Linked DNA regions of Homo sapiens: all the other regions are linked to region 2. Evidence: promoter capture Hi-C in human tissues and cell types (Jung and others, 2019). All regions are on one chromosome and are shown on one strand. The core of a region is centred on a gene start or on the middle of the fragment in contact, and the rest is flanking DNA. Distances in the headings are between cores, read along the strand shown.

Region 1 (3,348 bases), core at 78-2,577, 550 kb before region 2:
ATTCCTGACATACTCCTTCTTATCTCTATTGCAAAGCAGTAGTCCAATTTCCTCTTGGTAGTCAAGATCAATCTCTCCAGCCAGTACAGTAATTTTCTGCTTTGCCTCTTGTTTCAGAGGCCTGAGAAGCCCCAAGTGGCCAGTTGGCAATTTTAACTTCCAGTTTAATGGAAATATTGCTTTTTCTAGTAGAAGCATTCCTCCATTTGGAACTAAGGTCTCTAGGTCAGCACAATATACAGTTAAAGGGATAGAACAAAGGTTTGCTATTGCATCAATAAGGATAATACTGAGGTGTGCCACTCCCATTTCCACCCCTTGATTCCTGGACTCCAAGAATCCTGGCTATGGGATAAACAACACCATATATTGGATGCTGATTCTGAGCATATATAGTCTCCTGGAGAACCTTGTCCCAGGCCTGCAATATATTGCCACCTAACTGGGGCTGTTAATGAGTCATCGAAAGACCATTCCACTTTTCTATCAATTCAGCAGCTTTATGATGGTGGGAGACATGGTGAGACCAGTGAATTCCATGAGCATGAGCTCATTGCCAAACTGCTTTTGCTATGAAGTGAGTTTCTTGACCAGAAGCAATGCTACATGGAATACCATGATAGTAGATAAGAAAGCTTCATAGCTACATGATCACCCTGGGGAATGGTATTATACTGTGTACTCATTGTCTCAGCTGCTGGTAATTTAAGTACTTAGCAGTGACCATAAGCCAGGTAAGCCTTGGTAAGTGGAAGTCCATGTTGCTGGGCCCATATATGATCTTTCTCCCTGCCATCATGTGTACTTTGTTCATGAACCCATTGGGAAAGGATAGGGGTTGTTGGGGAAGAGGCTGACTGGTATCTAAAGAACAGGTTAACTTATACTGTTGATTATTAAAATCTCCTTCTAGTGAGTTCGTGTTTTGGTGAGCATTCACTTAAGACACAAATATCTTCACATTTCTTTTGCCCATTCAGAAAGGTCTATCCATATATCTTGCCCGAAATTTTCTTGGCACCAATTTTCCAATTATGTTTCTTCCAAGTTTCTATGTTCCAATCAGAACATTGGCCACAGCCCATAAGTCTATATATAATTGCCTGTCTGGCTATTTCTCCTTTCAAGCAAAGTGAACAACCAGGTGCAATGATCAGCATTCTGTTCACTGGGAAGATTTCCATTCACTACTCAGCTTTATGGATGTCCCAGATTTCCCTTCACCAGTAACCTTTAGGGATGCTGCAGCTGTCCACTTTTTGGTGGTGGTCATAATGGACAGCTCAGGTTATATGTTAATTCATGGCCCATAGTTAAGCATTTGGTCTGTACCAAGGCCCAGTAGCAGGCTAAGAGCTGTTTTTCAAAGACAGAGAAGTTATCCACAAAGGATGCCAGGACTCTGCTCCAAAAATTCCATGAGCCTGAGCTGTGATTTACCTGCAGGGACCCACCAAAGACTCCAAATAGCATTTCTATCTGCCACTAATAATTCAAATACCATTGTATCTTCTGGATATTATGGCTCAAGTGGCAAAGCAGTTTGCACAGCAGCCTGGACATATTAAAGAGCCTTCACTTTGTTTGGGCCTCAAACGCTAGCACTTTTGAGTCACTTGGCAAATAGGCAGGAGTAACACACCCATATTAATAATATATCTTCTCCAAAATCCAAAGAAGCCCATTATGTATTTTTATTATTTTGGTTGTAGGAAGGACCAGATGCAATAGTTTATCCCTCACCTTAAAAGGTATGTCTCAACACGCCTTGTATCACTGGACCTCTAGAAATTTCACTGAGGTAGAAGGCCTCTGAATTTTTGTTGGATTTATTTCCCACCTTCCGACACACACAAGTGTCTTGCCAATAAGTCCAGAGCATTTGCTGCTTCTTACTCACTAGGTCAAATCAGCATAATGTCGTGAATATAATGGACAAGTGTAATATCTTATAGAAGGAGAGATTATTAAGATCTCTGTAACCTAAATTTCGACATAAGGCTGGATAGTTGATATATCACTAAGTTTGGAGAGCGAACGTGTATTTCTGGCCTTGCCAGCTGAAAGCAAACTGCTTTTGGTGATCTTTCTTAACAGATATGAAGAAAAATGCACTTGCCTGATCAATAGCTGCCTACCAGGTAACGGGATGTGTTAATTTGTTCAAGCAGTGAAATCACATCTGGTACAGCAGCTACAATTAGAGTCGCCACCTGGTTAAGCTTATGAAAATCCACTGTCATTCTCCAAGATCAATCTGTCTTCTGCACAGACCAAATTGATGAGTTAAATGGGAATGTGGTGGGAATTATCAGCTCTGCACCTTTCAAGTGCTGGATGATGGCATTAATCTCTACAATTCCTCCAGGAATGCACTATTTTTTTTTTTATTCCTATTTGCCAAGGTAGACACAGTTCTAGCAGCCTCCATTTGATCTTTCCCACCAGAATGCCCTTACTCAACAGGTTAGGGAACCAATGTGGGAGTCCTGCCAACTGTTGTGTATATATATTCCAATTACGCAGTCCAGACTGAGTAAATGACCACAGGATGCGTTCGAGAAACCCACTGGGCCCACTGAGCTAAAACTCCATTGACTCTGACCTCTATAAGCTGCTACTCTGACTTATGGACCACAGTGATGTTTAGGTTTCCTGAAATAAGTGTCAATTCAGAATCAATGAAAAGTCTGATTATTTTCTTTTCCCTAGTGCACAGTGACCTTGATAAAAGGCCATAGATACCTTTGAGGATGGCCAAGGGAAAGATTAACAGTATAATTTTTTGGCGGTGTCCAGGGTCTTTCCTCAAAGGACCTGACCACCCCTTCATTCAAAGAGTTCTGGGTCTACAAACTGGCTCAAGTCTGGGAATTAATTGAGAGGCCATGACTGTTTTTATGATTCAGATTAGACTTTTGTTCACTTGACCTAGAACTTTTCCACTTTTACAGACCAAATGAAGCGTTTAGCAGGATTCTTATCTATTGCAGGTCGAGGAACACCATGAGCAACTAGCCAATGCCATAGGTCTGCATGAGTAAGTATTCTGATTGATACTTTGGCTCTACTGACCTCTAATATAGTAACCACACCCACCTTGTCTGTCTTGATCAGTTGGGGCTGCTATAACAAAATACTGTAGACTAGATGGCTTAAACATCAGACATTTATTTACCATAGTTGTGGAGGCTGGGAAGTCCAAGATCAGGTGCTGGCATATTTGGCTTTCAGTGATGGTCATTTTCCTTGCTTTTAGGTGGTCATTTTCTTATTGGATGCTCACATGGCCTTTCCTCTGTGCATGTACCTGAGAGAGAGCGCTGTTAAGTCTCTTTCTCTTCTTAT
Region 2 (3,174 bases), core at 1-2,500:
TGCCCTTGCCCGGGTCGTCGTAGTGGCGCGGCACCTTCACGAAGCACTTGTTGAGGGACAGATTGTGGCGGATGGAGTTCTGCCAGCCCTGCTTGTTCTCGCGGTAGTAAGGGAAGTTCTTCATGATGAACTCGTAGATGCCGTTGAGCGTGAGCCGCTTCTCGGGGCTCTGCCGGATGGCCATCATGATGAGCGCGTTGTAGCTGAACGGCGGCTTCTCGTACTTGCCGTTCTTCTTCTCGCCCTCCTTGCCCCCCTCCCCGTCCTTGCCGCCCTCGCCCGCCCCCTTCTTCTCCTCCCCCCCGGCGCCGGCGCCCTTCTCCTTCTCGTCCGGCCCGACGGGCGCCAGCTCCCCCGGCCCGCCGCCCGGCTCGCCCTTGCCGCCCAGCCCGTCCGCTTTAGCCCCGTCCAGGGCGGCGGCCGGTGGTGGCGGTGGCGGCGGCGGGAGCAGCAGCTGCTGGGGGCCCTTGTCGTCGTCGGCGGCCGGGGCGCCCCGCGTCTGGGGGGGCTGCGGTGCCGGGGGCGGCGGCGGCGGCGGCTGCTGCTGCTGCGGCGGCGGCGGCGGTTGCGGGGCGGGCGGCGGCGGGTGGTGGTGATGGTGGTGGTGGTGGTGGTGGTGCTGGGGGTGGTGGCTGTTGTGGTGGCCGTGGCTCGCGTGGTGGTTGTCGTTCTGGACCGCCTCGGGCACCAGGCTGTTGATGCTGAACGAGGACTTGGGGATCATTTTCACCTCTTTCCTATCTCCCATGTCCAGCATCACCCAGTCGTCGGGGGGAAACGGCGGCGGCGGCGCGGGAGCGGGACAGCGGCGCGGCGGGCGGCGGCGACCGGTGGGTGCCGAACGGGGCGCGGGGGGCGCGGGCGGCAGCGGCGGCACTGAGCGCTCCGGCAGCAGCGCAGTTGGACCGCAGGCTCGGGCGCTGGCAAGTCATGTAGCAAAAGCAGCAACCACCCCTCAGGAATTAGAAAAAAAAAAAAAAAGGAAAAGAAAAAAGAAAGAAAGAAAAAAGAAACAACCACCGCCCCGGGGGTGAAGCTCCCTCGCTCCCAACTGTACTTCTTGGTCTCCCCCCCCACCCCCCGCTCCCCCCCCCGCTGCTTCCTCCTCCTCCTCCTCCTCTCGCAGCAGCAGTCACAGCAGCAGCAGCAGCAGCCCAAAGGGGGGGAGAGCCGGGCGGCGGGCGGGCGCGTCCCGGAGCGGCCGCGGCGAGGCTGGGGAGACAGCGATCGAGGCGGCTATAGCCACAATTAATTTTCCGAGCTACAGGCGCACACTAGGGCTGTAAAAAAATTTTTGGTTTAACCTTTCCTACCGCTGGGCCAATCAGAGCTGGCGGCGTGCGGGAGCGTCTCTCTCGCCGTCGACCAATCGGAGGGGCCGGGCCCACCCACCCCCGCCCCGCCCGCCGGCTGCCGCCCCCTCGGGCGCTCGCCTCCCCCTCTCCGCGGGCCTCGGACCCCGAGGCCGCGCGGAGCCGCGTAGGGATACGCCGGCGGGAGCACGCGGTGCCGCAGCCCTTCCCTGCGCCCCCGCCACCCCCTCCACCCCGCCGGCTCCGCTCCACCGAAATTCCCCTCCTAGGGCCAATAGCTCACATTTCCGGCTTCCTCCTCATTGTACTGGGTCATTTTCGTTTAAGCGTCAATATTTGTCCTTAGTGATTAAAGTTTGTATCCAATTTTATTTTTGAAAGCGGGGGTGGTGGTGGTAGTGGGAAGAGTGGGAGTGCAGGGAGAGGATGCGAGAGGGCAGGAAATGGAGGAGGTAGAGGCGAGGCACTACTTTTCCGAGTCGGCCTTGCAGGCCAGTGTCTGGCATTTCTGAGCCAGCAGGAAAATTGTGCCCTTTGTAGGTAATAGTCTAGCGCAGCTTTGGATAAGGGGGGAGATAAGGCCCACCGCTGGCGTGTGTGCGGGGGTGTCCTTTACTTCGGGGGAGGAGGGTGTGGGAGAGCTTTGGGAGCGATGAGATGAGGAGGAGGAAGTGGGCAGAGGAGCGCGGGGCCAAACAGGGGTTACTTACTCGATTCCTGAGGCCTGGGCGGCGGCGAGCTCCGGGCTCCGGCACCGCGGGGAAACCGGGACTGGGGCTCCGGGTGCTGCTGCGGCGGCCGGGGCCGCTCAGTAGTGGGCGCCTCTGATGGCCTTCCGAAATGAGAGGTGCCCAGAGAGAAAACAGTACCAAACAATCTCGAAATAAATCAGGTAACACATGCTATATACGTGTGTCTCTTCCTTTTCCTTCTCTCCTGCTCCAGAGCGTCGCTCACGCGCGGGGTGACTCGATGTCGTTTTCTCCTCGCCGCTCCAGCCTCAGCTTCTAATCCGAATTGGAAGCGGGTAGCTGCGAGCGATCACCCTGGAAATATTTTCGTTTTGCTTGTTGACATTGGAGGGAAAATAAGGGTGGGCGTCTATTTCTTTCCGGTTTTTTTTTTAAGCCTTCCTATTTTCACTCCTTTTTTTTCCTTTCCGTTTCTCAAATGCTTTTATTTTGTGCGGGCCTCATTCCTGAAATAACAGTATACTGAAGCCAGCTCTTGCCAACCCTGAGTGCTGCTGGAAAGCACCGGGGAGCCTTGGGAACGTGGATCTCACAGTCCCAGCTTCTTGGGCTTTGGAACTGGGAAGGTTCGGTTGGAGGTTGAAGTGAATGGGGAAATTGCGAATCGGGGGCTTTAAAAGGATCCCGTGGCCAGGGGCAGGGCTAAGGCCCAGCATTTCCCAGGGATTGGAATTTAGTGGGGAGCACATTGATCAAAGGCTGTTTCATCCCACATGGGCACGAAACATACCACATTTTACGGAGGATGTAGCCCCAGAGAAGAGGGAGGTGGAGAAGCATAAATGAAAGGCACCTTTTCCTTCCTCTAGAAGGTAAATAATTATAAAATGTAAGCATTTCTTCACTTGGATAAACTTTCATTAAGATATCTGGCAGATTTGGTATTTAAGAAAACGAAGGAAGGAAAATTGGTGCTTATGCTTGATCCTAAAGTTAAATTGTAACATAAAGAATGCGGTTGATGAATACTCAGGATAATAGGGGGTTATTCCATCCTCCCCACCCCCAGTCTTAAGAAAGAGAAAGAGAGAAAAGGTTGGGGGGGGGGGAGGAAACTGGAGAGAATAATAGATAATTACAAATAGCTAGTGAATTTTAAATATGCATCT
Region 3 (2,956 bases), core at 100-2,599, 580 kb before region 2:
CGAAACCATCCTGGCCAACCAACATGGTGAAACCCCGTCTCTAGTAAAAATACAAAAATGAGCTGGGCATAGTGGCACACGCCTGTAGTCCCAGCTGCTTGGGAGGCTGAGGCAGGATAATCTCTTGAACCCAGGAGGTGGAGGTTGCAGTGAGCTGAGATTGTGCCACTGCACTCCAGCCTGGGTGACAGAGCGAGACTCCATCTCAATGTATAAAATATATGAATATATATATTCATATATAATATATAAAATATATATAATATACATAAATATATTAAAATAAAATAAATAAAATAAAAATATATAATATATATAATATATGAATATATATTCATATTATATAAAATTATAAAATAATATTGTTTTATAAACAGATTTTTCTACCATATAATGAACAGTTTCCATATCATTAAATATTATTTTCATTGCAATATAGAATTCCATTAATGGACATGTAATTCATTTAACCCATATTCTACCACTGGGTATGTAGATTATTTTCATTCCTTTTTCCTATTCTAAGAAATGCCAGTAGGGACGTATTCTCATAGGTATGTTTTTGAAAGCACTTAAGGTATTTTGAATACACTGCTTAGCAGGATACAATAATATCTATTCTCCTCAATCAATAAATTCCTATAAATAAGTCTCCTTTCCTAAGCAGATGAAAGTATTAAACTACAAACTGTGTGCCTCATATACTAGTAGAGAATATTATACTAGCCCATCAGATTTATTTGTTTATTTTAATTCTTCCATCCTGCACTACTGCCTTGTGCATCTTACCCTAGTAATCAAAGAGCTGAGTTTTTCTGAAGAGGCACAAACTCAAAAAATCCCAGTTGTATCCTGTCACCTTATGCATGGATATTCACATCCTGGCAGCACTGTGCCAGACACCAGCACACCCATTTCCCAAATAGTCTGATTTATGTCACTGTGGAGCCAACCACCAGCCAATCCACACAGCTGGATTCAGGAATGGCCATGAAACCTCCAGGCAGAAGTTTGAAAGTCAGTATATGAGTGACTATGTCTTTTTTGCCCCCTTTGCTATGAGACCATGTCTAGGTAGAGGCTGACCTATTAGTCTCCTCCTGTAATGCACATTTGGAATATAGCCACAGCTACAATGGACAAAGGATGAGTGAAAAATTACACTCTGCTGTTGTAAGGTACTGAAATTCTGGATTCATTTGTTATGACACATTGATGATCTTCTCCTGACTAATACACTTAGAGAACAGCAATGTATTCATAGAAATAAGGAAATCTTGAGAGGCAACATCGAGAAGTGGATGAAGCCAGTCTCTTTAGGCTAAAACCTTCTTCTTGCCTCTTTCTAACCAAGTAAACTTGAAGACATTGCATAACTTTTATAGGTTCTTAACCTCCATGGAAAATGAAGATAATAGTACCTAGCCTCAAATAGTTATTATGAAGACTGTATGATATATTACATGTAGCATTTAATGTCTGATAATACATAGAAAATCTTCAATATATATCAGCTCATTTTTAAAACTAGCATTAGTAGTTTTAAGCAGAGATTACAGCAGTAGAGAATTTGGGTTTTAACTCAGAAACACCTGGCTTCAACTCTCAATTCTGACACTCTCAGTGTAAATTTGTGTTCATAACTTGAGTTTTCTGAGCCTTTGTTTATTGACTTACAAAGTGAGGATAAGAATGCCTACCTATTGTATCACTGAGGCGATGAAATAAGTTTGTATGTATAGGGAGCACAATGCAGGGCACATTGGAAACACACAATAAATGATGATGCTGTTATGATTAAAAATCAATAGTGATCATTTTAAAAAGACTCTGAATGATGGAAAGGTACTTTGGTGGCCATATTTGGCCATCTTCTCTGGATATTAGAATCTCAATTTGTTGCTTTAAAATCTGCTGCTGTAATCCCAGCACTTTGGGAGGCTGAGGCGGGCAGATCATGAAGTCAGGAGATCGAGCCCATCCTGGCTAATATGGTGAAACCCCGTCTCTACTAAAAATACAAAAAATTAGCCGGGTGTGGTGGCGGGCACCTGTAGTCCCAGCTACTCAGGAGACTGAGGCAGGAGAATGGCGTGAATCTGGGAGGCGGAGCTTGCAGTGAGCCGAAATAGTGCCACTGCACTCCAGCCTGGGTGACAGAGTGACAGTCCATCTAAAAAAATAATAATAATAAAAAATCTGCTGCTAAACTTCTAAATCAACTTGATGGGTCAACTCTGATTTTATGCACAAATTTCATGTAGCATGACTGCGAGAATCATCTTTGATCTGACCAAGAATCTCTTTAAATAATTAAACCATGTTGAACTACATAAAATATGTGTTATACAAAATGTAATCATCCATTAGTCAAATCTGTCTAGTGAAAGAGGATTTCAAGTGTTTGCTGAGAGACAAAGAACAGACAAAGAAGTGAACCTACCTGGTTTATAGTCTTGATTCACAAAAACAGGCCCTATGAACTTGGAGAAAACTTATGGGTACAAGTTTTCTCATCGTTAAGCTTACTTTGTCATGGTTCATTAGGCAATGACTGAAGTAGGAGAAACTGTATATTTGATTTCCAACACCCTGAGGTGATAAAAAAGATAGTTTTTGTCATATAATTTCAGCATAGTTTTCTCTTCAAATGTAGAACTGCGTTGAAACTATCAAATATAAGTGACTTTTGAAAGTGCCAATAAGCTAGGACCTTACTTTGCATGGCTCCCATGGTTTTTGAAGTTCTTAAGTAAATTCAAAGTAAGCGACACCAGCATCACCATAAGTAATGATGAGTAAACAATCCCACTTGCCAGCTCCATGCCTAGGTTTTCCTCATTGTAGTGAATGTTGTGATGTGAGCATGAAAGTAGGAAAAAACTATCACTTTTCAACAACGGTATTAATTTTTTCAAATCTTTCATTTCTCATTTTAATACCATCCAATATTTCT

The links. Contacts are between HindIII fragments. The study calls those that stand out against the background at their distance.
Region 1: a fragment that was not itself captured here is called in contact with the fragment with the promoter of FOXG1 in region 2 in 6 of the 25 tissues and cell types used here (H1 embryonic stem cells, heart left ventricle, lymphoblastoid cells and 3 more).
Region 3: a fragment that was not itself captured here is called in contact with the fragment with the promoter of FOXG1 in region 2 in 3 of the 25 tissues and cell types used here (H1 embryonic stem cells, dorsolateral prefrontal cortex and neural progenitor cells).

What each region holds. Positions count from the first base shown.
Region 1 is chr14:29,317,648-29,320,995 of GRCh38, reverse strand. All of the region lies in intron 4 of LOC102724934 (a long non-coding RNA gene), which reads left to right. Among named protein-coding and RNA genes, the nearest start is that of LINC02326, 250 kb to the right of the region's middle. The HindIII fragment of the contact is 5,587 bases long and covers 1-3,348 here.
Region 2 is chr14:28,764,863-28,768,036 of GRCh38, reverse strand. FOXG1 (forkhead box G1) reads right to left here and starts at 1,250. Exons shown (of 1, transcript NM_005249.5): 1 at 1-1,250. The coding sequence starts at 757. FOXG1-AS1 (FOXG1 antisense RNA 1) reads left to right here and starts at 2,718. Exons shown (of 7, transcript NR_125758.1): 1 at 2,718-2,877. RefSeq lists an enhancer at 1,595-2,119. The HindIII fragment of the contact is 7,501 bases long and covers 1-1,801 here.
Region 3 is chr14:29,346,929-29,349,884 of GRCh38, reverse strand. All of the region lies in intron 3 of LOC102724934 (a long non-coding RNA gene), which reads left to right. Among named protein-coding and RNA genes, the nearest start is that of LINC02326, 280 kb to the right of the region's middle. The HindIII fragment of the contact is 3,855 bases long and covers 1-2,956 here.